Linked DNA regions of Homo sapiens: all the other regions are linked to region 1. Evidence: promoter capture Hi-C in 16 types of primary human blood cells and fetal thymus (Javierre and others, 2016). All regions are on one chromosome and are shown on one strand. The core of a region is centred on a gene start or on the middle of the fragment in contact, and the rest is flanking DNA. Distances in the headings are between cores, read along the strand shown. Region 1 holds the start of AP4E1 (adaptor related protein complex 4 subunit epsilon 1). Region 2 overlaps TRPM7 (transient receptor potential cation channel subfamily M member 7). Region 3 overlaps USP50 (ubiquitin specific peptidase 50). Region 4 overlaps TRPM7 (transient receptor potential cation channel subfamily M member 7). Region 5 overlaps USP8 (ubiquitin specific peptidase 8). Region 6 overlaps TRPM7 (transient receptor potential cation channel subfamily M member 7). Region 7 overlaps TRPM7 (transient receptor potential cation channel subfamily M member 7).

Region 1 (3,524 bases), core at 47-2,546:
GCAGGGTAGCTCACGCACGTAATCCCAACACTTTGGGACGCCAAGGCGGGCGGATCGCGAGGTCAGGAGATCGAGACCATCCTCGCTAACACGGTGAAACCCCGTCTCTACGAAAAGTACAAAAAATTAGCCAGGCAGTGGCGGGCACTTGTAGTCCCAGCTACTCGGGAAGCTGAGGCAGGAGAATGGCGTGAACCCGGAAGGCGGAGCTTGTAGTGAGCCCAGATCGCGCCACTGCACTCCAGCCTGCGCGACAGAGCGAGACTCCGTCTCAAAAAAAAACAAAAATTAAAATTTTTAAAACCTTAAGGCTCCAGCGAGCCGAGATCGAGATCGCACCATTGCACTCCAGCCTGGGCGACAGAGAGAGACTCCGTCAATAAAAATTTAAAAATTTTAAAAGTTTAAGAATTTTTATAACTGCTCATTTTCAAAGCCCACTTGAGGCAGAGACTTAGCAAATTTTACATTTTGAGAGAACTGTGCTTTTTCTTTGCCCAACACGTTGTTGTAACCCAAGAACCTCAAGCTCCCCAAAGATATTCAACAAGAGGCTCACAGGATCTCTTCAGGTATGCGACATCTGAACTGTTGTTCAGTTGAAGGCACCGGGGGAGAGAAGGAAACTGAGTAGGGAAAAAAAACTTTGTGGAAGGTAAATAATGTCTGACACTTCCATCGCACTAGGTATTTTCACACGCTTGACATCTCACCCAATCCTCAAAACAAACAAAAAACCTATGAATTATGTATCAGTACTTTTCCACCACAACGTTGAGAAAACACACGGAGGCTCAGAGGTTACAGAGATGTGCCCCCGATCAAAGAGTCAGTGTCAGAACTAACTGTGGAAACTCGGCTTCCCTGCTGTCAGTCCCAGCAGGAAAGTGAAGCTTCCAGGCAGACGAAAGGACGAACCGACACAGCAGCCCCTGAGCCCCGCCGGAGGGCTAACCCCAGAGGCCCTGAAGTCTCGCCGCCCGGCCAGGGCCTCCTGGCGCGGGGGCCTCACTCCGATGTCCCTGAGCTCCCGGGCCGGCGGGCACCTACGTGCTTGGAGGTGAGGGCTGTGATGCCGCGGACAAGGCTGCCCAGCCTCGAGGAGAAGGACGCCTTGGCGGCCGCGGGCCCACCACCGGGCTGGTTCTGCAGAAAGAGTCCCGGCAGCGCCGTCAGCGTCTTCTCCACTATGTCGCTCATCGCCGCCGCCGCCCGCGATGCCGCCGCCGCCCGCGATCCCGTAGCCGCCCGGCTTCATGCCCGGCCGCCGCTGCCGGCCCGGCCTCCGTAGGCACTTCCTGTTTTTTGAATAAGAAATCTTTATTGGCGTCCCACCTGAACAAGTTCAGCGTCGTTCTCGCGAGAGGCCACCAGAGGGCGCAAGAGACCGCGGGGGTGGAAAAGGCCGCTCGCTCGAGATTGCGCGCGTAAGTAGACCTCCTTTCTCGCGACGGGGTAGCGGTTCCGGAATCCCCCAGAACCGTGAGTCCTCCTGAGGAAGCCGTCGGGGGCCTGGCCCTGTTAGGCACTGTCTCCCAGAGTCCCCCTTTCCCACTAGCCGCCTCCGCGTAGCCCGAGACCGCGTCAGGAGTTGCGTCTTCCTGGCTGCGCCTTTTTCGGGACGTCCCCGCGCCGTCCGCCGCCTCTCACTGTCCCCGGAGCGCGCGCCACCCGCCCGCTTCCCACAGGCGGTTTCACGCGGGTCCCCGGCGCCGCGCGCGGCTCCGGCCCTGGCGACTCTTGGGACACCCGAGTAGTTGCGTGATAGCGGGGCTGTCCTGAGGATTCGGCGTGCCAGGTTGAGAGCCCGTCGCGTGCCGGGGACTCGCGGCCACTGTCGCTTCCCGTCCGCCCCTCTTCTCCTGGGATTTGGGGAGGTGGGCGGGAAAGAGAACTGGTCGGCGGCCACCCTTGCCGACTCCTCCTCAGCAGGTCGCAGTTGAAAGGTCATCCTTCTAGAGCCCACTCCCCTGGCCCGGCGGGCAAGGATAGGTCTCCAAGTCCCACCCTCTCACAGCGCTCGGTTCTGTTCCACTTTAGAACAGGTCGCAGTTGCCACTACGTAAACAGCTCCCCATAGAGAGAGTATTTTATTCATTCCGATTGCTCCGTCTTTTATCTAGAACAGAGTCTGGTACAATGGCTCTCGAAATGTGGTCTGGTGACCTCAGGGTCGCTGAGACCCTTCTAGGGAATTCACAAAGTCAAAACAACATTGATAACGTTTCTTACGTGTTATTTGCCGTTTTTACCCTCATTCTGTTGGAAATGTACAGAGTTTTCAAGCGGCTAGATGACGATTGACTAGCTGGTAAAATGTATCCTGGAGTATCCTTGTGTTTTCTAGAATTTTCTAAGGTAGTAGGTTTAGGGCATAAATACGTGCGTTTTCAGAGATTAATGCAATTTGCTCTCAGTACTCCTAGTGTGTTTCTAGGAGGTAGGTTAGGTAGGTGGTGATAGCCTCCCTTCAAGGGGAACAAACTTGCTAAATAAATAGAACAAACCAGCCCATAGTGTACAAACCACATCCGAGGCTCCTGGTTAGAAAATTTTGCAGCAAAGAGGTACGAGAGCAGAAGGGAAAATCCCCAAACTCTCACAAGCGCAGAAACCCATGATCAGTGTCGTTGGGCTGAATTATACTCATTATAATAGTAAAAAAAAAAAAAAAAAAAAAACACCACTCCTGGGTGAAGATTTAAGATACTAATAAGACATGCAGTGTATGTACTAGCATATACAACCACAGCGCACATGGCGACAGAAAACCAGAGAACGTGCTTAATAGCAGCACCCGTTCTCCCCGCTTCATGAATGATCCTGTGAGACTCCTACAAAGGGAGTTTCCCCAGTGTCAGTGCATGCTGTCTCACCTTTGAGCAGCCCGCTCTGATCAGCTGTGAGGGTGTACTTTCGCTTTGCAATAAACTCTTTTGCTTGCTTTTACTTTGGACTTCAAAATTATTTTGCACCGCGAAGTCCAGAACCTCAACCGGCCCACCAGCTACAGCTACACTTACAAGCTATCTTCGGTTATACCTGCTCTAATCTCTGTAACCTCCTTGTCACCTAATAAATGAGTTTTTTTGAAATCCTGAAGTTGTTTTAATACCTATATGGGAACATAAGAAAAAAGTTCAATTTGTTGGCTTGTCTCGCAAGAATATTTTTTAATATATTGAGAACATTTTAAAATATTTAAACTTTATCTAAAAGGGATACTCATTTATTCATTTAATTTTTTTTTTTTCAGAGTCTCGCTCTATCACCCAGACTGGAATGCAGTGGCACAATCTGGGTTCACTGCAGCCTCCTCCCCCTGGGTTCAAGCAATTCTCCTGCCTCAGCCTCCCGAGTAGCTGGGATTACAGGCGCCCGCCACCATGCCCGGCTAATTTTTGTATTTTTAGTAAACACAGAGTTTCACCATTTTGGCCAGGCTGGTCTCGAACTCCTGACCTCAGGTGATCCGCCCACCTCAGCCTCCCAAAGTGCTGGGATTACAAGCGCGAGCCACTGCG
Region 2 (3,207 bases), core at 290-2,789, 330 kb after region 1:
AGCTGGAAAGAGACAGGTTATCTACTCCCAAGGTCCTTTCTGGATCTGGTCCTTTCATTCCTGAGCAAGGCTACATAGCTGTGTAATGAAAGTGCTAAGCCTCTAACCCGTTTTCCTTTATTCTCATTCTGTTCTCTTTTCCACTCTACCTGTGTGTCTAGTTGACACTGGAATCCTTGGAAGTAAAAGAACCTGCATTTGGTGCCAGTGTATGTTGTTATAAATAAATACAGTTAACATTGGGAGAAATATTTTTCAACATTAGAAACTAAGAGGCAAAATGACATCTACTTACTTTTCTCTCAGTTCTTTGTCCATCAATTCTATTGAAATATTTCTAGCATCCTGCAAAGTCATCTCAATGTATTGTTACAGTACTGGAATGAATCTCCACGAATACAGAAGTTATGAAATAGTTTATTAGTATAGAGCCTTCAATTTGGCACCAAACTGCTAATAATATTTATGCATAAATTGGAGATACAAGTTATTAATAAGTAGATACATATGGATATATATATATAGATATATATATCTATATATGGATTGGGATTGGCTTAAGGGAAATGGCAAATATTCAAAGGGAATCAATTTCAGAATTTCCTTAATAATATTTTTTATATAATAATTGTATAAAATCAAAAAATTAAATGATAGCCAAAACTTAAATCATAGCACAGCTTATACTATATTTTTTGGTGTTTCTTTAGGCCATCTGAAGAAGGAACATTAAATGGTGAGTCTGTGTGGTAGATTGAACGTGAAAAAAATGAGAATCTTACATGATCTGTTACAGCAAACACCACATTATTCTAGGTAAGATATTTTAGACTTCAAGCTAGAAAAAGCCAAGGTATTGAAGAGTTCTTCCCTCATATACTTTCTCCTTACTGTAGATGTTTCACAAACACACGAATCACCCTGTGAATGATGATATCTTTACTGTCACACTTCCTCCCTGCTACTTGGTCTCTGCTATACAGCCTGCTCCTTTTCTAATATTCCATCTGTTTTAACAAATGAAACTTTTAGTCAGCTGAGTTATTCTTGACCACCTTGACTTTGTACTCACAAAGTCCTATTGCATTTACTTCCTACATGTCTCTAAAATCCATCCTCCACTATACATCCCACTGCTGCTTTCAGCTTAGACCATTACTTTGTCAACCTTTTATCGAAGTGTATAGTGCATACAGAATAGTGCAGAATTCAGTGAATTCTTTCAAAGTAAGTATAGCCATGTAATCAGCACCTAAAAACAATTTTGCCTATATCTCCATTCCTTTGTTTCTACTTCTTATAGTCCCTGCCCCTAAAACAATAGTTTCACCTATTTTGGGGTGTATGTGCGTGTGTGAGTGTTTGCATGTATGTGCATATTGGCTATATAAATGAAATTGTACAGTATATACTGTTCTGTGTCTTGCTTCTTCTTCTTAACATATTGTTATAAAATTCATCAATATTGCTGTGGATAGTGGTAATTTGTGCATTCTCACTACTATATAAAATTTTCTTATGTAAATATATTGAATTTACTTCCATTCTGCTATTTGGTGGTCATTTCAGTAGCTTCCACTGTATGGCTATTATGACTTGCTGCTACAAGCATTCTTGTTCATGTTGTTTGATAAACATATGTATTTATTTATTATTGGCATATGCCTAGGAGTGGAATTGCTGAGTCAGAGTTAGCATGTGTTCACATTTGGTAATTACTACCAAATAGGTTTTCAGAGTGGTTATACCAGTTTGGGGTCCCTGCCTGTAGTTTTGCTTCTCATCAATGTTCTATTCTGCCACCCTTCCCTGCCCCCGGGTGAGAAGGAGTCTTGCTCTGTCGTCCAGGCTGGAGTAGGGAGTATAGTGGTGTGATCTTGGCTCACTGCAACCTCCGCCTCCCAGGTTCAAGCAGTTCTCCTGCCTCAGCCTCCCGAGTAGCTGGGATTACAGGCATGCACCACCACATCCGGCTAATTTCTGTGTTTCTGTAGAGACGAGATTTCACCACGTTGGCCAGGCTGGTCTCTAACTCCTGACCTCATGATCTGCCCACCTCCACCTCCCAAAGTGCTGAGATTACAGGCGAGAGCCACCGCACCTGGCCTGATTTTTCTAAAGGTCACTCCTCCACTTTACATTTTTTCCCCATTGTTGTTTAATGAAATCCAGTGTTCTTCCTTAACATGACATATTAGGCTTTTAATTACCCCCCCACACACACTTTAGGCTCTTAATTCCACGCCTCCCGCCCCCTCCCCTGCCAAAGACAGGATCTCTCTGTCACCAGGTTGGAGTGCAGTGGCACAGACTTTGCTCACTGCAGCCTCAACCTCCTAGGCTCAAGCATTCCTCCCACCTCTGCCTTCTGAGTGGCTAGGACTACAGGTGGGTGCCACCTTGCTCAGCTAATTTTAAAAATCTTTTTTGTTGATAATGGGGCCTTGCCATGTTATCCAGGCTGGTCTTGAACTCCTGGCCCCAAAGCAGTCTTTCCACCTCAGCCTCCCAAAGTGTTAATGATGATAGGTGTGAGCCACTGTGCCTGGCCTCCTCTTAACAATTTGATATTCCCTGTTTCTGTAGCTTCACCTCCTGCAGTTATCCCTGTACTCTTGCCCATTAATTTGTAGTCTTAGCTGCATATTCAAATCATTTGTAGAGAATCATTTCTATGATGACACATACCTACAGAATTAGAATATTTTGGAGTGACATCTGGGTGGATGTATGTCCAAAAAGCACTATAGGTCAATCTTCCCCCTTCTCTTACTCTGAGATAGCTTTGACGTCTTCTCAACCAAAAGGCATTAGGTACTCCTATATAGTCGTACAGTATGTGCACACATGTATGTGTATATACACATTTTTAAAGTATATTTTTATACAGTATTAAAACTGTTGGCTAACTTCCTTTTCCTGCAAGACAGTAGGTTTCTTTTTATTTGTGTTCTAGAAACTTAGCACATAGCAGATTTGACTTGTCTTTGTCTTCTTGCAACATTTAAAGGTCAATTCCACACACACACACAAAAAGATGGGGGAAGGGCTTTTGATGGGTATGTTTCACATTCCAGAAGTTCATCTTCTCATGGTAGACCTGCTAAAATATTTACATGGCTACAGTCCCCAACCCCCAAACATCAGAATCAAAGAGAGATTTTTCTTTCTGAATGGGAGGTATGGGAGGAGTGAGTTTATGGCAGG
Region 3 (3,562 bases), core at 903-3,402, 370 kb after region 1:
TTACATTATTGTTTTTAAATTGTGATAAAATATATACAGCATAACACAAAACTGTGCCATTTTAGCAATTATAATCATACAATTCATTGACATTAATTATTCACAATGTTGTGCAACAGTCATCACTATTTCTAAAACTTCTTCCTCACCCACACAGAAACTCTGTAACCTTTAGTAACTCCACATTCCTGCTCCCCCTAGTCCCTGGTAAGATACTTCAATGAAGGTCTGTTAAAGTCTTTGGCGTATTTTAAAAATTGGGTTGTTGGTTTTCTTTTCTTTTCTTTTTCTGTCTTTTTTTTTTTTTTTTTTTTTTTTTTTGAGACAGTCTCACTCTGTTGCCAGGCTGGAGTGCAGTGATGTGATCTCAGCTCACTGCAACCTCCACCTCCCAGGTTCAAGCAATTCTTCTGCCTCAGCCTCCCAAGTAGCTGGGACTACAGGTGCACGCCACCGCACCCAGCTAATTTTTTTTGTATTTTTGGTAAACATGGGGTTTCACCATGTTGGCCACGATGGTCTGATCTCTTGACCTCATGATCCACCCACCTCGGTCTCCCAAAGTTTTGGGATTATAGGCATGAGCCCCCACGCCTGGCCAGGTTGTTGGTTTTCTAATTGCTGAGTTTTAAGACCCTTCCCTTCCCTTCCCTTCCCTTCCCTTCCCTTCCCTTCCCTTCCCTTCCCTCCCCTTCCCTCCCCTCCCCTCCCCTCCCCTCCCTCCCCTCCCCTCTTTTCTTCAGTCTCTTGCTTTGTCACCCAGGCTGGAGTGCAGTGGTGAAATCTTGGTTCTTGCAGCCTCCACTTCCCTAGTTCAAGCCATTCTCCTGCCTCAGCCTCCAGAGTAGCTGGGACTACAGGCACCCGCCACCACGCCCAGCTAATTCTTATTTTTTTTGGTAGAGACAGGTTTTCACCATGTTGCCCAGGCTGGTCTTGAACTCCTGAGCTCAGGCGATCTGCCCACCTCGGTCTCCCAAAGTGCTTGGATTATAGGCATGAGCCACTGTGCCTGGCCAAGTTTCTTGTATATTTTCAATAGCAGTTCTTTACCAGATGTGTCTTTTTTTTTTTTTAGTCCATGGCTTGTTTTTTATTCTCTTGACAGTGTTTTGTAGAGCAGAAAATTTTGACTGTAATGGAGTCCAGCTTATCAATTCTTTTGTAAAGCAGGCCTTTCGTGTTGTAGCTAAAAAGTCATTGCCAAACACAAGATTATCTAGATTTTCTCCAGTGTTATCTTCCAGGAGTTTTGTAGTTTTCTGTTTTACATTTTGGTCTGTGATCCATTTTGAGTTAATTTTTGTGAAGGGTGTAAGGTTTGTGTGTGGATTCTTCTTCTTCTTCTTTTTTTTTTCGCGTGGATATCCAGTTGTCCTAGCACCATTTGTTGAAAAAGGTCATCTTTTCTCCATTGTATTACCTTTGTTCCTTTGTCAATGATCAGTTGATTATATCTTTGTGGGTCCCTTTCTGAGCTCTCTTGTCTATACCATTATTTTTCTATTTTTTTCACCAATACCACATTGTCTTGATTATTCTGGTTTTAAAATAAGTTTTGAAGTTTGGTAATGTCAGTCCAATTATGTTTTCCTTCAGTATAGTTTTGGCTACTCTGGATCTTTTACCTCACCCCATAAACTTTAGAATCATTTTGTCAATATCCACAAAATAAGTTGCTGGGATTTTGATTGGGATTGCATTGTATTTACAGATCAAGTTGGGAAGAACTGACATCTTGACAATATTGAAGCTTCTTATCCATGAATATAGAATATATCTCTCTATTTAGGTTCCTCTTGGATTTCTTTCATGAGAATTTTCTAGTTTTCCTTCTATAGGTCTTGTACATATTTTGTTAATTTTATAACTAAGTATTTCATTTTTGAGGGTGCTAATGTGAATGGTATTGTGTTTTTTTTTAATTCATTTTAAATTAAATTAAAATTTTTTTGAGATGGAGTCTTGCTCTGTTGTCCAGGCTGGAATGCAGTGGCACGATCTCGGCTCACTGCAGTCTCTGCCTCCCAGGTTCAAGTGATTCTCCAGTCTCAGCCTCCTGAGTAGCTGGGATTATAGGCATGCACCACCATACCCGACTAGTTTTTGTATTTTCAGTAGAGACAGGGTTTCGTCATGTTGGCCAGGCTGGTCTTGAACTCCTGACCTCAGGTGATCCACCCACCTTGGCCTCCCAAAGTGCTGGGATTACAGGTGTGAGCCACCATGCCCAGCCATATTTTTAATTTTGAATTCCATTTGTTCAAAGCTGATGTGTAATATACTTTTTGTATATGAATCTTGTATCCTACAATCTTGCTATAATTGTTTATTATTTCCAAGAGGTTTTTTTGTTGATTCCTTCAGATTTTCAACATATACAATCATGTCATCTGTAGACAAAGACGGTTTTATTTCTTACTTCCCTGTCTCTATACCTGTTATTTTCTTGTCTTTCTTATTGCATTAGCTAGGTCTTCTAATACAATGTTGAAAAGTAGTGGTGAGGGGACATCCTTGCCTTGCTCCTGACTGTAGTGGGAAAGCTTCTAGTTACTCACCATTAAGTATGATGTTACTGTAGATTATTTGTAGACATTCTTTATTAAGTTGAAGAAGTTCTCCTCTATTCTTAGTTTACTGAGAGTTTTTATCATGATGGGTATTGGATTTTGTCAGACACTTTTTCTGTGTCTGTTGATTTGATTGTGTGTGTGATTTTTTTTCCTTTAACCTAATTATGTGATAGATTTCATTAATTTTTCCAATGTAGGACCAGCTTTGCATACCTGGGATAAAGGTATGTAGCTAGGACCATGCCCAGCTAATTTTTAAAATTTTTTTGTAGAGTTGATGTCTCACTATGTTGCCTAGGCTGGTCTTGAACTCCTGGGCTCAAGAGATTCTCCCACCTTGGCTTCCCAAAGTGCTGGAATTACAGGCGTGAGCCACTGTGCCCAGCCCATTTTGAAATTTCTTTCAAGCTATCTTCTTTGACTTGTGTTATTTAGAAGTGTGTTGCTTAATCTCCATGTATTTGGGGATTTCCTAATTATCTTTCTGTTATTTCTAGTTTAATTCCATTGTGGTCTGAGAGCAGAGATTGTATGATTTCTATTATTTTAAATTTGTTAAAGTGTGTTTTAACAAGCACACCTTAGGCCAGAAGGTCTAACTTACCCTTATTTAGCCTAGCTAGAGGCTTGGTGAATGTTCCATGTGAGCTTGAGAATAATATATATTCTGCTGTTGTTGGGTGAAAGAGTCTACAGATGTCAATTACATCTATGGACAGATGGTGTCGTTGAGTTTAACTATGTCCTTACTAATTTTTTGCCTGCTGGATCTGTCCATTTCTGACAGAGGTGTGTTGATATCTCCAACTATAAAAGTGATTCATCTATTTCTCCTTGCACTTCTATCAATTTTTGTGTGTGTGTGTGTGTGTGTGTGTGTGTGACAGAGTTTCACTCTGTTGCCCAGGCTGGAGTGCAGTGGTGCCGTCTTGGCTCACTGCAAACTCTGCCTCCTGGGTTTAAGCAATTCTTGTGTCTCAGCCTCC
Region 4 (3,567 bases), core at 53-2,552, 310 kb after region 1:
GGCAGGAGAATTGCTTTAACCCAGGAGCCGGAGGTTGCAGTGAGCCGAGATCGCGCCACTGCACTCCAGCCTGGGTGACAGAGCAAGACTCCGTCTCAGGGGAAAAAAAAAGTTTGGACATTTTTCTTACAGAAATATTATCATATGGTTGATCCAGGAATTTTACCCTCTTTAGTGCTCGTCAGGTTAAACCCTGCCTCGAAGGGTAAATATAACACCTAAATATACTTTCTTTTCTGGAATAGAGTTGTAAAACAGATAGCACCCACATTTCTCACAACATCTTTTTGTGTTTGAACACTCTTAAGCTGGGGTTCCTATGTCTCCTTGCCCAGATGCTTTTGCTGGAATCTGTGAAACAGATTTGTACATAATCGAAACTTACTTTAAGTAAATAAATAACCAGAAACACTCATGAATAGCAGTTACTGATGAATTACTATTTTTAAGTTGTTTTTGTTTTTTTCTTTTTTTCTCTCTAAAGTGTGTGCAAATGATTCTGTTATCCCTCAAATCTGTGGTCCTGGGACGTGGTTGACTCCATTTCTTCAAGCAGTCTACCTCTTTGTACAGTATATCATTATGGTTAATCTTCTTATTGCATTTTTCAAGTAAGAATTTTGTTCAATTGTTTGTTATAAGATGATTTAATATGCAATTCTACATATTTTGAAGGAAATTTATAGAACTTAAAATCTAAAAATTTTATTGAGGCTTAAACTACTAAAATTATATTTGAAAAATTACAAATAGGAGATGCTTTTTCTAATCAAATGAGTTCTAAATTTTAAGTTTGATTATCTTTCAACCTGCAGTTTTCTTTATAAATTTAATCGTTATCTGGGATTTTTCCTCGGTTGCCAACAAATACGCATTCAATATAGAAAATTCATCAGTAATTCCACTGTTAATATTTGGGTGTACACCTTTCTATCATTTTTTTTGCAAATATATGTAAACCATTTTTCTTTTCAGAAATAGTATTTTTATTTAATTTATTTATTTTTGAGACACAGTCTCCCTCTGTCACCCAGGTTGGAGTGGCACAATCTTGGCTCACTGCAACCTTAGTTTTCAGGGTTCAAGGGATTCTCATGCCTCAGCCTCTTGAGTAGCTGGGATTACAGGTGTGCACCACAACGCCTGGCTGATTTTTTTTGTATTTTTAGTAGAGATGAGGTTTCACCATGTTGGCCGGGCTGGACTCAAACTCCTGGCCTCATGTGATCCATCCACTTCAGCTTCCCCAAGTGCTGGGATTACAGGCATGAGCCACAGTGCCTAGCCTATTTTTATATTTTATGTACTGTTTTATAACTAAGCAAAGCATCATGAACATTATTTCAGATAAACAAATATTCTTCTCCAGTCTATTTTTAATGGCTACCTGATACTCCATGATATAGACCATAATTTTTCAATCTAGTATGTTGTATTGGTCAATTAGATTGTAATTCTTGCTCCTAAACACCACATTGTAGTTAAATCTGTGAGCAATACTTGCTTGTTTAGAATGTTTTTCTAAAAGCAGGGCTGTTCAGTATATGTACTTTTAGGGCTTTTGCACTTAAGTCTAAATAGGCCTGTTTCCTCAACTCGGCCCACACTGAGTATTTTTTTTTTAATGGTTGCCAATTTGATAGTAAATAAAATTATTTTATTTTATTTTTTGAGACAGCCTGTTGCCCAGGCTGGAGTGCAGTGGCACTATCACAGCTCACTGTAGCCTCTTCCATCTGGGCTCAAGTAGTCCCTCCTGTCTCACCTCCAGAGTAGCTGGGACTATAGGCATACACCATCACGCCTGGCTAACTTTTTTGTTTTTAAATAGACAGGGTCTCACTATGGTGCCCAGGCTCGTCTTGAACTCCAGGCCTCAAGCACTCCTCCTGCCTCTTGGCCTTCCAAAGTGCTAAGATTATAGACATGAACCACCATGCCCAGCCAGGATTTTGTTTTTTAAAATTTGCACTTACTTGATTACTAATAAGTCTGAGTATTTTCTTATGTCTTACCCATTTACATACAATATTTTAAATTTTTTTAAATTATTTTTTTCTGCTGAATGTTAGTCTTTGCCTTATACTTACTGCCTGTATCTTTTCTAGTTTCTCATTTGCTATTAGTTTTGTTTACAGAAGGATATTTTTTGAATTATTATTTAGTACAGAATTACAATGAAATCATCAGTATTTAAAACTTTAAGAGATGATTAACAAAGTTTATTTTATTTTTATTCATTATTTCTCTAGCAATGTGTATTTACAAGTGAAGGCAATTTCCAATATTGTATGGAAGTACCAGCGTTATCATTTTATTATGGCTTATCATGAGAAACCAGTTCTGCCTCCTCCACTTATCATTCTTAGCCATATAGTTTCTCTGTTTTGCTGCATATGTAAGAGAAGAAAGAAAGATAAGACTTCCGATGGACCAAGTAAGTAAACTATATTAAGGCAAATGTTTTCATTTTATCACTTCTCATTTTTACACCAAAGGCTATATATTGATTTTATTCAAAAATGACTTAGTGGATTAATGTTATGGTAGATTTTTGTTAAATATGCCTGTACATAAAGGAATTTTTAAGTGCAATATGATATCTATAAAAATGGATTTAGCATTAAACTTCGTTATGAGAATGGCGTCTCTGTTTCTGTTAAAATGGTAATGTAAACCGAACTTCTTTGTTGTTCTACAAACCATTTTTACAGCTCTGTAAACAATAACAATTTTAGTACATTCTGTGTACATGAGACTAATCATACTGTGTCAAATTATGCTTAAAATTTTACAGGGACTTTCAAATTAGTTCTTAAATTTCTCTGAGTAGATACGTGAGGGAGAGGTATGAGAGAGATAGCGGAGGGATGTTGTATAGGAAAAGGAAATCAGAAGAGGAGGAGGAAGTACCTGATTGTATTCTGCTGACATCACACTGGTGAAGCAAAAAAGAAAGATAATTGTCTAGTGCTTTAGAAGCATAGTAGTAAAAGTTTAAAAAGTGCAGATGATGGATGTAGTCTTAGAAACCCTGAATAATTCGTAAGAATTATGAGCTAAAGTTGAAACCTTGATAGCTCTTCCTTGATTTTCTTCTCCTTTTCCTCCCATAGAACTTTTCTTAACAGAAGAAGATCAAAAGAAACTTCATGATTTTGAAGAGCAGTGTGTTGAAATGTATTTCAATGAAAAAGATGACAAATTTCATTCTGGGAGTGAAGAGAGAATTCGTGTCACTTTTGAAAGGTTCAGAAGCCCTTTAGTTAAAATCGGTTATATGTCAAAATGGGATCTATTCGTTATATTTCTTATACATGGTCATTGTTAAATTTATTTTGTCAAACAATAAGCATAGTTACAGTTTTACATGATGTATTGGAAAGATCGTTCAGTTCTATTAATACTTCATATAAGTCAGTTGGTCAGTCTCTTATTTTTTTACCCTAGTTACAGAAGATAGAAGAGTTTACTGTTCTTTACTGTTTGGAGGGAGAAAAGTAAAACTGTCCTCACTATTTTACAGCATTTTTTATTATCATCATTATTATTATTATTTATTTTATT
Region 5 (3,480 bases), core at 36-2,535, 410 kb after region 1:
TGCTCCTTTAAACATCAAAACAATGATATCTTGGTTGGTGTAATATGGTTATTTCATAATTTTGAAAATATTCAGCATTAAAAATTTTAGCAAATGTGTAATCACTTATAGAATGTTTATACTTCCAGAATCCTCAACTAGGACAATGGAAAAAACTAGCTTTTGTTAGAAAAATTTACACAAGAGAAATCTGAACATGTAAATTTGGAAATTAATATATGGAACTAAGAATCTCAATACAAGATAAAACATTTTTAACAGAAATGCTTTTTTGACACAAAAATTACAGCTCTCAATAAAAAAGTGCAACTTCCTTTAAAAAGTTTTTCAAATAATCAACTCAAAGTTCTTGAGTTACATGGATTATGTGATTATGTGAAGACCAAAGAATCAGCAAAAGATCTGGTTCGTGTTTTATAACTCTTGTCATTATTCCTTCTATTATAGGACTAGATCTTTTCCATCAATTGGAAAAATCTGGATGAAATTATTTCTGCACTTAATGGTATCGTTAACATATTTTATCATTAAAATACTTTAAAAATTATAAATTTTATTTAACACATAACTAAGTCTGTTATGCTTTAGTCTGCTGTTTGAATGTTACATTTCATGTGCTAATTTGTTTGAATTATACTGTAATATTTTTATACATTTTCACTTGATGCTTTGTAATTATTTAAAATTATAAGGAATTACATGAAATAGTGGTATTGTCATTTTGCTGTGGTACTGAAAACACTGAGGTGAACTAACAGTCTCATTTCTGCTTTATTTCCCTAGATCTACTGTAACCAGATAATCGCCCTTTGTTATGTGCCCATGGCAGGCAGTACAACAAGTATAAATTACACAGAACTTAAAATTCCCTCATTTAATTTCACTGAACAGGAGGACAAACTTTCCCCTTTACCGTTTCAGATGCACTAAAAGCACAGGTGGTAACTTCCAGATTTCTATCTTTTTTAGAGAATCCCGTCGAGCTCTGCAATGACTGCAGTAAAATCTGTTGTTATCTGTGAGTTTTTCTTCTTTGGAAAATAATCTAAGGCAATCCTGGCAGAAAAAAACAAGTAGCAGATACTCGTTAATTCGATTCTTCAATAATGTCAGAGAGCACCTATTTAGTTAGTCACTCTGCAGGCACCAGTGATTCAACAGCAATCTACACAAAAGAGTTCCTGCCTTCCCAAAGCTTGTGATCTAGTGAGAAGCATAGACAAGTGAACAATGACAGCACAGAGTGTGGTGAGTGCTACCTACAGTGTGTTGTGACAGGACACAGGAAAGCCCCTAACCTGGTCAATCAGAGAAACCCTGTTGGAGGAAATGACATTCTGGAGGTACTTTAAGACTAAAGGTATCAACAAGCTTTTATATAAGAAACATTGTTGATACATGGAAAACAGGATATTTATTTGATATCCCCATGTAAAGCAAATGCTTATGAAAAGTAGGCCTAAGTTAGTCAACAGACAACTTTCCAAATTAACTTATAAAACTTTTTAAAAACATACTAACAATCCTGAAATCCTGAAAGAATATTTAATAAAGGTATCTTTAAAAAAGAAATTTCTAATTCTTTCTAATCTACATAGGCCTAATTATAAAACAGAATTTATATTGAGTTTTACTGATAAAAGGTTTTTTTTTTTTTTTTTTTTAAGACGGAGTCTTGTTCTGTCCCCTAGGCTGGAGTGCAGTGGCGAGATCTCAGCTCACTGTAAACTCCGCCTCCAGGGTTCACGCCATTCTCCTGCCTCAGCCTCCTGAGTAGCGGGGACTACAGGTGCCCACCACCACGCCCGGCTAATTTTTTGTATTTTTAGTAGAGATGGGGTTTCACCGTGTTATCCAGGATGGTCTCGATCTCCTGACCTCGTGATCCGCCCACCTCGGCCTCCCAAAGTGCTGGGAGTACAAGGTATGAGCCACTGCGCCCGGCCGAGTTTTACTGATAAAATGTTTGTAAGGGTAAAGACCAGAAATTTACATCTCTATATCCATAAAAACAGCATTTTTATCCAATAAATCATTTTCTCTCTACTTCTTAAACTTACCTGTAATGTACATTTACTTGTGGATGCTAGTGGTAGAGACAAATACATGAAGGCCTCAAATGTCCTAGACTTTTTGTGACATGTGAGGCACTGTACTGTAGATTTGAATTGACCCTGAAAAAGTGCAACAATAATAGACTCATTGAGCTGCTTGTGTTTCTGCCAGGCATGTTCTGCAGCTTTAAAGTCATCGAGATGATCATTATTTTCTTCTTTATATCTCTTCCGATTATCAGCCTGGAAATAAAATGATTTAAGCTCTATATTAATATCTCAAAGAAAACATTTAAATTGAAAGAATAAAAGTGAATACAAACACTTGCCAGATTTAGAAACACCTGTAGTTCTCATAAAGGAGTTCTGATCTCACTGAGTGTGGCAAAAAATAATTCTAGCCAAAAATACCAAAAAAAACTCACTCACTTTATTGAAGGAATGTGACTTGTTGAAATTTCCCAAATTTTTATTTAAAAAGCTGAAAAGGGCCAGATGTGGTGGTTCATGCTTGTAATCCCAGCATTCTGGGAAGCCAAGGCAGGAGGACTGCTTGGGGCCAGGAGTTCGAGACCAACTTGTGCAACATAGTGAGACCCCCCCCTCCAATCTCTACTAAAAAAAGAAAAAGCTAAAAAGTTTGGTTTTTAGAAAAGATATCCCACATATAGCTGGGAATTAGGGCTACAACTGGACATATATAATTTTGTTGCCCTAGCCTCTCTCTCTCTATATATGTATATATGTATGTGTATATATATGTGTATATATGTATGTATATATACACGTATATATGTATATATGTATGTGTATATATATGTGTATATATGTATGTATATATACACGTATATATATATACACAAATATTTTTGTGTAGGTGTGTGTGTATATATATATATATCTGTTCAGTGGTTAAGAATGGTGACCCCAAAATATGTGAGACAAAAAGTGCTAAAAAGAAGTTGTAGTATGTAAATGGAGGGTGGTCATTTATGTATACATACATGCCTTTATAATAACTAGTCACATGAGTCATTTGGTTACATGGAGTAATTTTTTTTTTTTTTTTTTTTAGAAAGAGTCTCACTCTGTCGCCCAGGCTGGAGTGCAGTGGTCACTGCAATCTCGGCTCACTGCAACTTCTGCCTCCCAGGTTCAAGCGATTCTCCTGCTTCAGCCACCTGAGTAGCTGGGATTACAGGCACATGCCACTACACCCAGCCAATTTTTGTATTTTTAGTAGAGACGAGGTTTTGCCATGTTGGCCAGGCTGGGCTCAAACTCCTGACCTCAGGTGATCCACCAGCCTTGGCCTCCCAAAGTACTGGGATTACAGGCATAAGCCACTGTGCCCAGCCAAGTAATTCTTATTTTAGAAGGATGTGTAAGAATAAAGGCATGTTCCACTTTCAGCAAGGGACTGGGA
Region 6 (3,425 bases), core at 677-3,176, 290 kb after region 1:
CCCAAATCCAGGGCGGGGCGGGGAGGGGGCGGGGCAGCAATAAGATGGTAAATGTCTACCTACTATTTACTAAAAATACAAACTTTTTTCTTTCTTTTTTTTTTTTTTGACAGAATCTCGCTCTGTCACCAGGCTGGAGTGCAGTGGTGCCATCTTTGCTCACTGCAGCCTCCGCCTCCCTGGTTCAAGTGATTCTCCTGCCTCAGCCTCCCAGGTAGCTGGGACTACAGGCGTGTGCCACTGCACCCAGCTAATTTTTGTGTTTTTAGTAGAGTCGGGGTTTCACCATGTTGGCCAGGATGGTCTTGATCTCTTGACCTCGTGATCTGCCCGCCTCAGCCTCCCAAAGCACTGGGATTACAGGCGTGAGCCACTGCACCCGGCCAAAAATGCAAACTTTTTTAAAAAAAAGCATTTGCTATTTTCACAGTGCTGGTCTGTTTTGCTTCCAACTAATAACCCATTTATTGAAATTTTATTAATTGCTTAGGACTTAGCTTAAATGCCATGCCACTGGTTCCATGAAGCTTGGTGGCATAGTTAAGTACAATTATTATGTCTTTCCCTTTGGATTGTAAATTTCTTTGAAGTAGGTATTATATCTCATTTTCTCCCTTTTTTTTCTTTTTTTGAGAAAGAATCTCACTCTGTTGCCCAAGCTGGAGCGCAGTGGCACGATCTGGGCTCACTGCAACCTCTGCCTTCCGGGTTCAAGCAATTTTCCTGCCTCAGCCTCCTGAGTAGCTGGGATTACAGGTGCATGCCACCATGCCCAGCTAATTTTTGTATTTTTAGTGGAGATGGGGTTTCGCCATGTTGGCCAGGCTGGTCTTGAACTCCCGACTTCAGATGATCCGCCTGCCTCAGCCTCCCAAAGTTCTGGGATTACAGGCGTGAGCCACTGGGCCCAGCTTCCATTATTTTCTTTTAGTATGTGTAGCACATTTGCGTTGAACTTTGTTGGCATTTTACTGTCCCTAGTGGACAGATGTAAAAATTAAAAGGATTATTCATTGTGCTGTAGTAAGGTTTATACCTGAACTATAAAGCAATGTAAAATAATAAAAATAAAAATTGATCCCATTAGCAAGACAAGTAATTTTTTAAATTGTATGACTCAAAGGTGTTAAGATAATACTGTAGTTACTTTCAGCATCAATTATTGATGAAGTTTTAAAACATTTAAGGGCTTGCAACATGATAAAGCAGTAGTTCTCAAACTTTTTGATTTTCAGGGTTCCTTTACATTAAAATTATTGAGAACTTCAAAGAGCTTTTCTAAAGAGGTTTTGTTTGTGTGTGTTGGTATTTTAGAATGTAAAAATGAGAGTTTTAAAAAATATTTGTTTTTATTAAAGTAGCAGTTATATTTACTTAAAATTTCTAAACTTATCCCATATTAACATAAATATTTGTTCTTATTTCTTTTTTCTTAAATTAGCACCCTTCTGCCTGATACTTTTTTTTTGTTTTGTTTTGTTTTTTTGAGACGCAGTTTTGCTCTTGTCATCCAGGCTGGAGAGCAGTGGCACAATCTTGGCTCAATGCGACCTCCACCTCCCAGGTTCAAGCGATTCTCCTGCCTCAGCCTCCCAAGTTGCTGGGATTATAGATGCCCACCACCACGCCCAGCTAATTTCTGTATTTTTAGTAGTGATGAGGTTTCACCGTGTTGGCCAGGTTGGTCTTGAACTCCTGACCTAAGGTGATCCACTGCCTCGACCTCCCAAAGTGCTGGGATTACAAGCATGAGCCACCGCACCCAGCCTGCTATGTTTTTATTTTTAAAGAAAACAAAAAAATTGGTGAGAAGAGGAAAACACGTTTGCAAATGTCTTTAAAGTCTAGCCTTATAAAAGCAGCTGGATTCTCGTATTTGCTTCTGAATTCAATCTCACAATATCACACATCAAAAAGCCTCTGGAAAACTCCACCAAACACTGAGAGAATAAGAATGAAATAATACAATTTTAATATGATTAGGAAAAAAGTCTTGATCTTGTGGAACTCCTGAAGGAATCATGGGGGCCTCAGGTGTCCCCAGGTCACACTTTGAGAATTACTGTGTTAAAGTACATTTATTATTTATTAACAATTTATTTTTAATGGATAAACATTTAATAGAGTAGGATAAAATAGAATTTAAGAAATTTTAAGTGCCTTTCCATGTGATTACATACCGTTAGAGAAAAATGCAATGAAATTCCCCAATACCCCCAAAATATGAGATACGTCTTATTAACTTAGAAGAAACTTTTATTTTAAAAAGTTCACCTGTGGGGGAGAATTGGCAGAGAGAACTTAGCCCCTGAGTTGATCGACTAAATAAATAGGTTTTTTTTTTTTTTTTTTTTTTTTTGAGACGGAGTCTCGCTGTTGCCCAGGCTGGAGTGCAGTGGCGCGATCTTGGCTCACTGCAGGCTCCGCCCCCAGGGGTTCACGGCATTCTCCTGCCTCAGCCTCCCGAGTAGCTGGGACTACAGGCGCCCGCCACCATGCCCGGCTAATTTTTTGTATTTTTAGTAGAGACGGGGTTTCACCGTGTTAGCCAGGATGGAATTTTTTAAATTTTTTACTTTTTTGGGGGATGGAGTTTCACTCTTGTTGCTGAGACTGGAGTGCAATGACGCGATCTCGGCTTACCGCAACCTCCGCCTCCCGGGTTCAAGCGATTCTTCTACCTCAGCCTCCCGAGTACCTGGAATTAAAGGCATGTGCCACCACACCCGGCTAATTTTGTGTTTTTTTAGTAGAGACGGGGTTTCTGCGTGTTGGTCAGGCTGGTCTCGAACTCCTGACCTCAGGTGATCCACCCGCTTCTGCCTCCCAAAGTGCTGGGATTATAGGCTTGAGCCACCGCGCCCAGCCCTAAATAAATATTGTAAAAAGAAGGCAGAGCAAAGTAAAGTAAAATATGATTCATATGCAATATCAATTGTAGTCATCTTAAATATTATATAGAATTTGAAAGCCAAGAATATCAAAGAAAATAACTTTTTCTCCAAAGAAATAATGGTAGGTGGCCCACTCTAACAGTATATATAAAGAGAAGTAAGATAATGGCAAAATTATGGCATATATAAATGTTAAATCAGGGATGTCCAATCTTTTGGCTTTCCTGGGCCACATTGGAAGAAAAATTGTCTTGGGCCACACATAAAATACACTAACACTAACGATAGCTGATGAGCTTAAAAAAAAAAAAATTGAAAAAAATTGAAAAAAAAACTCTATGTTTTAAGAAAGTTTACAAATTTGTCTTGGGCCATATTCAAAGCCATCTTGGGCTGCATGCAGCCCGTGGGTTACAGGTTGAACAAGCTTGTGTTAAAGTCTTGTTACCCAAAATATTTAAAGTCTCAATATGACTTTATTAGTGACAGAAACAGAGGAACAGACATTTTAACAAGAAGAAAGGTATTGTA
Region 7 (3,468 bases), core at 282-2,781, 350 kb after region 1:
AGTAGCTGAGATTACAGGTACCCACCATAATGCCTGGCTGATTTTTGTATTTTTCGTAGAGACAAGGTTTCACCTTGTTGGCCAGGCTGATCTCAAACTCCTGACCTCAAGTGATCCACCTCCCCCGGCTACCCAAAGTACTGGGATTATAGGTGTGAGCCACCATGCCTGGGTAACACCCAACTAATTTTAAATATATATTTTGTAGAGATGGGGTCTAGCCTTGTTGCCCACGCTGGTCTCAAATTCCTGGGCTCAAGTGATCCTCTCGCCTGAGCTTCCCAAAGTGGTAGAATTGCAGGCATGAATTGCTGCACCCAGCCTCATCTGTGCTGTGAATTATGTGCTGTATTGACTCTCAAGCATGATGACCATTGGTGGTTTCTGTACCATTTCCTGTTACTTTACTGAAACACACCTACTCCATTAACTTCTTGGGTTAAGTCTAGAAAGTAACAGTTTACTTGTAAACCACATTTCTTATCCCCAATAAGTATTTTTTTAAGATTATTAAAGTTCATTATTACTACCCTATGATGTGAAAGTGTCATTTGCTTAATCTTTTTAATTTTTTATTCTCAACCTCATCTTACTGAAGAGAATAAAACTCTTTTACCATATTCTTAAAATGTGGAATTCTCGGCCAGGTGCAGTGGCTCACGCCTGTAATTCCATCACTTTGGGAGGCCAAGGTGGGTGGATCATCTGAGGTCAGGAGTTCAAGACCAGCCTGGCCAACATGGTGAAACCCCGTCTCTACTAAAAATACAAAAATTATCTGGGTGTGGTGGCGCGTGCCTGTAGGCCCAGCTACTCAGGAGGCTGAGGCAGGAGAATTGCTTGAACCCAAGAGGTGGAGGTTGCAGTGAGCCTAGATTGCTGCCACTGCACTCCAGCCTGGGTGACAGCAGAACTCTGTCTCAAAAAAAAGATGTGGAATTCTTTTCTGCAAATGTTCTCTAATAGTATACCTTCTTCAGTCTGTCGATATATGTATGCTATTATTTTACAAGTAATACATGTTGATTGTATTGGAAATTATAGAAAAGATTATATTGGATTGTTTAGAAAATATTTTTAAATGTGAAGAAAAATATAAAAATTACTCCCTTGTTCCACTTTCCCCACTCTCAAGTCAGACTATGTTGTTTTCATAGTTAGTAGCTAGCAGTCTACCCCACTAGATTATATGCTTCACAGAGGGAAGGGACCCTCAAGACTTCACTGGATTGAGTAGCACCCAATACCTTGCTTGCTGCCTGGTTTGTGATGGGCATACTGTAAGAAAAAAAAATCTGAATGACAAAATGTTTTTCCATAATACCAGACTTCCTCTTGAAGAGATGGGTCGTAATGTTGTAGTCTTACATGCTTACGTAGACAATCAAAGCAAGAATACTCAATAAATGGCTATTTACCACTTGAAAGAAAGATCAAGTAATTATTTACAGAAAATGATGTGTCTACACAACAGGGATTTTTGAATTTCTCCTTATTTACCATATCTGATCTTATTGCTTCCTAGCTGGGTTTCAACAAGGCATCTGTATTTAAAGGTCCCAAATGATCTGTGAGCTTTTTCTTAGGAAAATTCCAGGCTAAGGCTCTGGTCCTCTCTAGAATATGATTTTCTAACTTCTTTGGAAACTCCTTAAAGCAGATTTCCATTCCTGGGGCCCATGATTCCACATTGGTGGGCATGAAGATGGGAGAGGATGTGGTTATTCTTCAGAAAAGCCACACACTTCAGGCTAACAGTAAATAGCACCAGTGAACAGAGCACTTTCTTCTTGTGCTGTCCAAACCAACATTAGGCTCTCTCCTTGTATTTCCCTTGGAATTTCTGTGTAATCCTGCATTACAGAATTTTTCTTTCATTTTAATTATGTCAGTATATGTTTCTTAAAGATTAAGAACTATAACATTATTACACCTGAAAGTTTAACCAAAAATATTGTCAAATATGTAATCATTGCTCTAAAAAAAATTTGTTTTAAGTAATTTAATTAGGACACAGAAGGTCCATACATTGCAGTTCCTTGCTAGTTTTGTTTTGTTTTTATTGGAGGCAGAGTCTTGCTCTGTTGCCCAGGCTGAAGTACAGTGGAGTGATAACCTTCGCTTCCAGGTTCAAATGATTCTCCTGCCTCAGCCTCCGAAGTAGCTGGGTCTACAGGCACATGCTGCCACACCAGGCTAATTTTTGTATTTTTAGTAGGGACGGTGTTTCACCATGTTGGCCAGGCTGGTCTCGAACTCCTGACCTCAAGTGATCCACCTGCTTCCGCCTTCACCTCCCAAAGTGCTGGGATTATAGGCGTGAGCCATTGAACCCAGCCAACAATTGCTTGTTTTTAAAGTCTCTTAGTATGTAGGTTCTCTGTCTCATCTTTGCCCCCTGCTTATGTTTTAAAGAACCAACTTACTTGTCCTGAAAAGTTTACTACATTTGAGATTTTGCTGATTGTTTCCTGCATATGTCATAAACTAGTGGTTAGTTAGGTCTAAAGGCTTGATCAGATTCAGTATTGAATTTTTGGTAAGAATGCTTCATTGGTGGGGGTATATAATTCTGTTAGGAAACACATGCCTGGTTGTCTTTTTGATAGTCATTGCCTAGGTCTATTATTAATTAGGTCAGTGGTGCTCATGGTGGGTCACAGACCCCTGAGAGTCTCCCCAGGACAATTTCAAGGTGTACATAACATAAGGTCAAAACTTATAATACTAAGATATTATTCGCCTTTTTCGCTGTATTGAGAGTTTTATTGATGGAGTAAAAGCAGTGATGGGTAAAACTGCCAGAACCTTACCATGAATCAAGTGAAAATTGGAATTTTGGAAAACTTGACTTTAACACCAGTAGCACTACAGCTTCCTAATACTTTCCTAATGAAATCAGTAGTGTTGATATTAAAACTTGTTTTTTGGTTTTTGGTTTTTTTTGAGACGGAGTTTTGCTCTTGTTGCCCAGGCTGGAGTGCAGTGGCGTGATCTCCACTCACTGCAAACCCCGCCTCCCAGGTTCAAGTGATTCTCCTGCCTCAGCCTCCCAAGTAGCTAGGAGTACAGGCATGAGCCACCACGCCCGGCTAATTTTTGTGCTTTTAGTAGAGACGGGGTTTCACCATGTTGGCCAGGCTGGTCATGAACTCCTGACCTCAGGTGATCCACCCGCCTCGGCCTCCCAAAGCGCTGGGATTACAGGCATGAGCCACCGCACCAGGCCAAAAATGATTTTATTTAGATAGTGTATAATGAGATGTGTCAGTGTTTCGAAGATCTGCATAACTAAACCAGTATTTTCGGAATGACCAATGCATAGTATTACAAAATAATGCATGAGTGAAAGATCTAACATAGTAGAAAAGGTTTGTTTACGAGGTTTCAGAGTCTACATTACAGTTAACCTTTAGGAAACTACTTCTCATCCAATTTTCGTGTCCTCATCCTCAAGAATATCCGCAG

The links. The method cuts DNA at HindIII sites, captures the fragments that hold promoters and counts their contacts. A CHiCAGO score of 5 or more calls a contact.
Region 2: a contact is called between a fragment that was not itself captured here and the fragment with the promoter of AP4E1 in region 1, in 2 of 17 cell types (activated CD4 T cells and naive CD8 T cells). The highest score is 5.9, in activated CD4 T cells.
Region 3: a fragment that was not itself captured here is called in contact with the fragment with the promoter of AP4E1 in region 1 in 1 of 17 cell types (erythroblasts); the score reaches 6.0 in erythroblasts.
Region 4: a contact is called between a fragment that was not itself captured here and the fragment with the promoter of AP4E1 in region 1, in 1 of 17 cell types (erythroblasts). The highest score is 5.1, in erythroblasts.
Region 5: a fragment that was not itself captured here is called in contact with the fragment with the promoter of AP4E1 in region 1 in 6 of 17 cell types (endothelial precursors, megakaryocytes, non-activated CD4 T cells and 3 more); the score reaches 6.8 in endothelial precursors.
Region 6: a contact is called between a fragment that was not itself captured here and the fragment with the promoter of AP4E1 in region 1, in 5 of 17 cell types (erythroblasts, naive CD4 T cells, activated CD4 T cells and 2 more). The highest score is 6.7, in erythroblasts.
Region 7: a fragment that was not itself captured here is called in contact with the fragment with the promoter of AP4E1 in region 1 in 1 of 17 cell types (endothelial precursors); the score reaches 5.1 in endothelial precursors.

Annotation. Positions count from the first base shown.
Region 1 is chr15:50,906,455-50,909,978 of GRCh38, reverse strand. It overlaps AP4E1 (adaptor related protein complex 4 subunit epsilon 1), which reads right to left and starts at 1,296. Exons shown (of 21, transcript NM_007347.5): 1 at 1,051-1,296. The coding sequence starts at 1,200. RefSeq lists enhancers at 220-961, 1,008-1,177, 1,198-1,487, 962-1,703. The HindIII fragment of the contact is 3,809 bases long and covers 896-3,524 here.
Region 2 is chr15:50,576,168-50,579,374 of GRCh38, reverse strand. TRPM7 (transient receptor potential cation channel subfamily M member 7) reads left to right here. Exons shown (of 39, transcript NM_017672.6): 31 at 711-736. Among named protein-coding and RNA genes, the nearest start is that of USP50, 31 kb to the right of the region's middle. The HindIII fragment of the contact is 6,054 bases long and covers 1-3,207 here.
Region 3 is chr15:50,535,033-50,538,594 of GRCh38, reverse strand. All of the region lies in intron 5 of USP50 (ubiquitin specific peptidase 50), which reads left to right. Among named protein-coding and RNA genes, the nearest start is that of USP50, 9.9 kb to the left of the region's middle. The HindIII fragment of the contact is 793 bases long and covers 1,756-2,548 here.
Region 4 is chr15:50,593,299-50,596,865 of GRCh38, reverse strand. TRPM7 (transient receptor potential cation channel subfamily M member 7) reads left to right here. Exons shown (of 39, transcript NM_017672.6): 23 at 485-611; 24 at 2,253-2,437; 25 at 3,117-3,249. Among named protein-coding and RNA genes, the nearest start is that of USP50, 48 kb to the right of the region's middle. RefSeq lists an enhancer at 3,514-3,567. The HindIII fragment of the contact is 5,842 bases long and covers 1-3,567 here.
Region 5 is chr15:50,494,665-50,498,144 of GRCh38, reverse strand. It overlaps USP8 (ubiquitin specific peptidase 8), which reads right to left. Exons shown (of 20, transcript NM_005154.5): 17 at 2,061-2,297; 18 at 914-1,056. It also overlaps a transcript of USP50 not described here. Among named protein-coding and RNA genes, the nearest start is that of USP50, 50 kb to the left of the region's middle. The HindIII fragment of the contact is 176 bases long and covers 1,198-1,373 here.
Region 6 is chr15:50,620,092-50,623,516 of GRCh38, reverse strand. All of the region lies in intron 12 of TRPM7 (transient receptor potential cation channel subfamily M member 7), which reads left to right. Among named protein-coding and RNA genes, the nearest start is that of TRPM7, 65 kb to the left of the region's middle. The HindIII fragment of the contact is 2,794 bases long and covers 530-3,323 here.
Region 7 is chr15:50,555,117-50,558,584 of GRCh38, reverse strand. TRPM7 (transient receptor potential cation channel subfamily M member 7) reads left to right here. Exons shown (of 39, transcript NM_017672.6): 39 at 1-1,427. Among named protein-coding and RNA genes, the nearest start is that of USP50, 10 kb to the right of the region's middle. The HindIII fragment of the contact is 6,844 bases long and covers 1-3,468 here.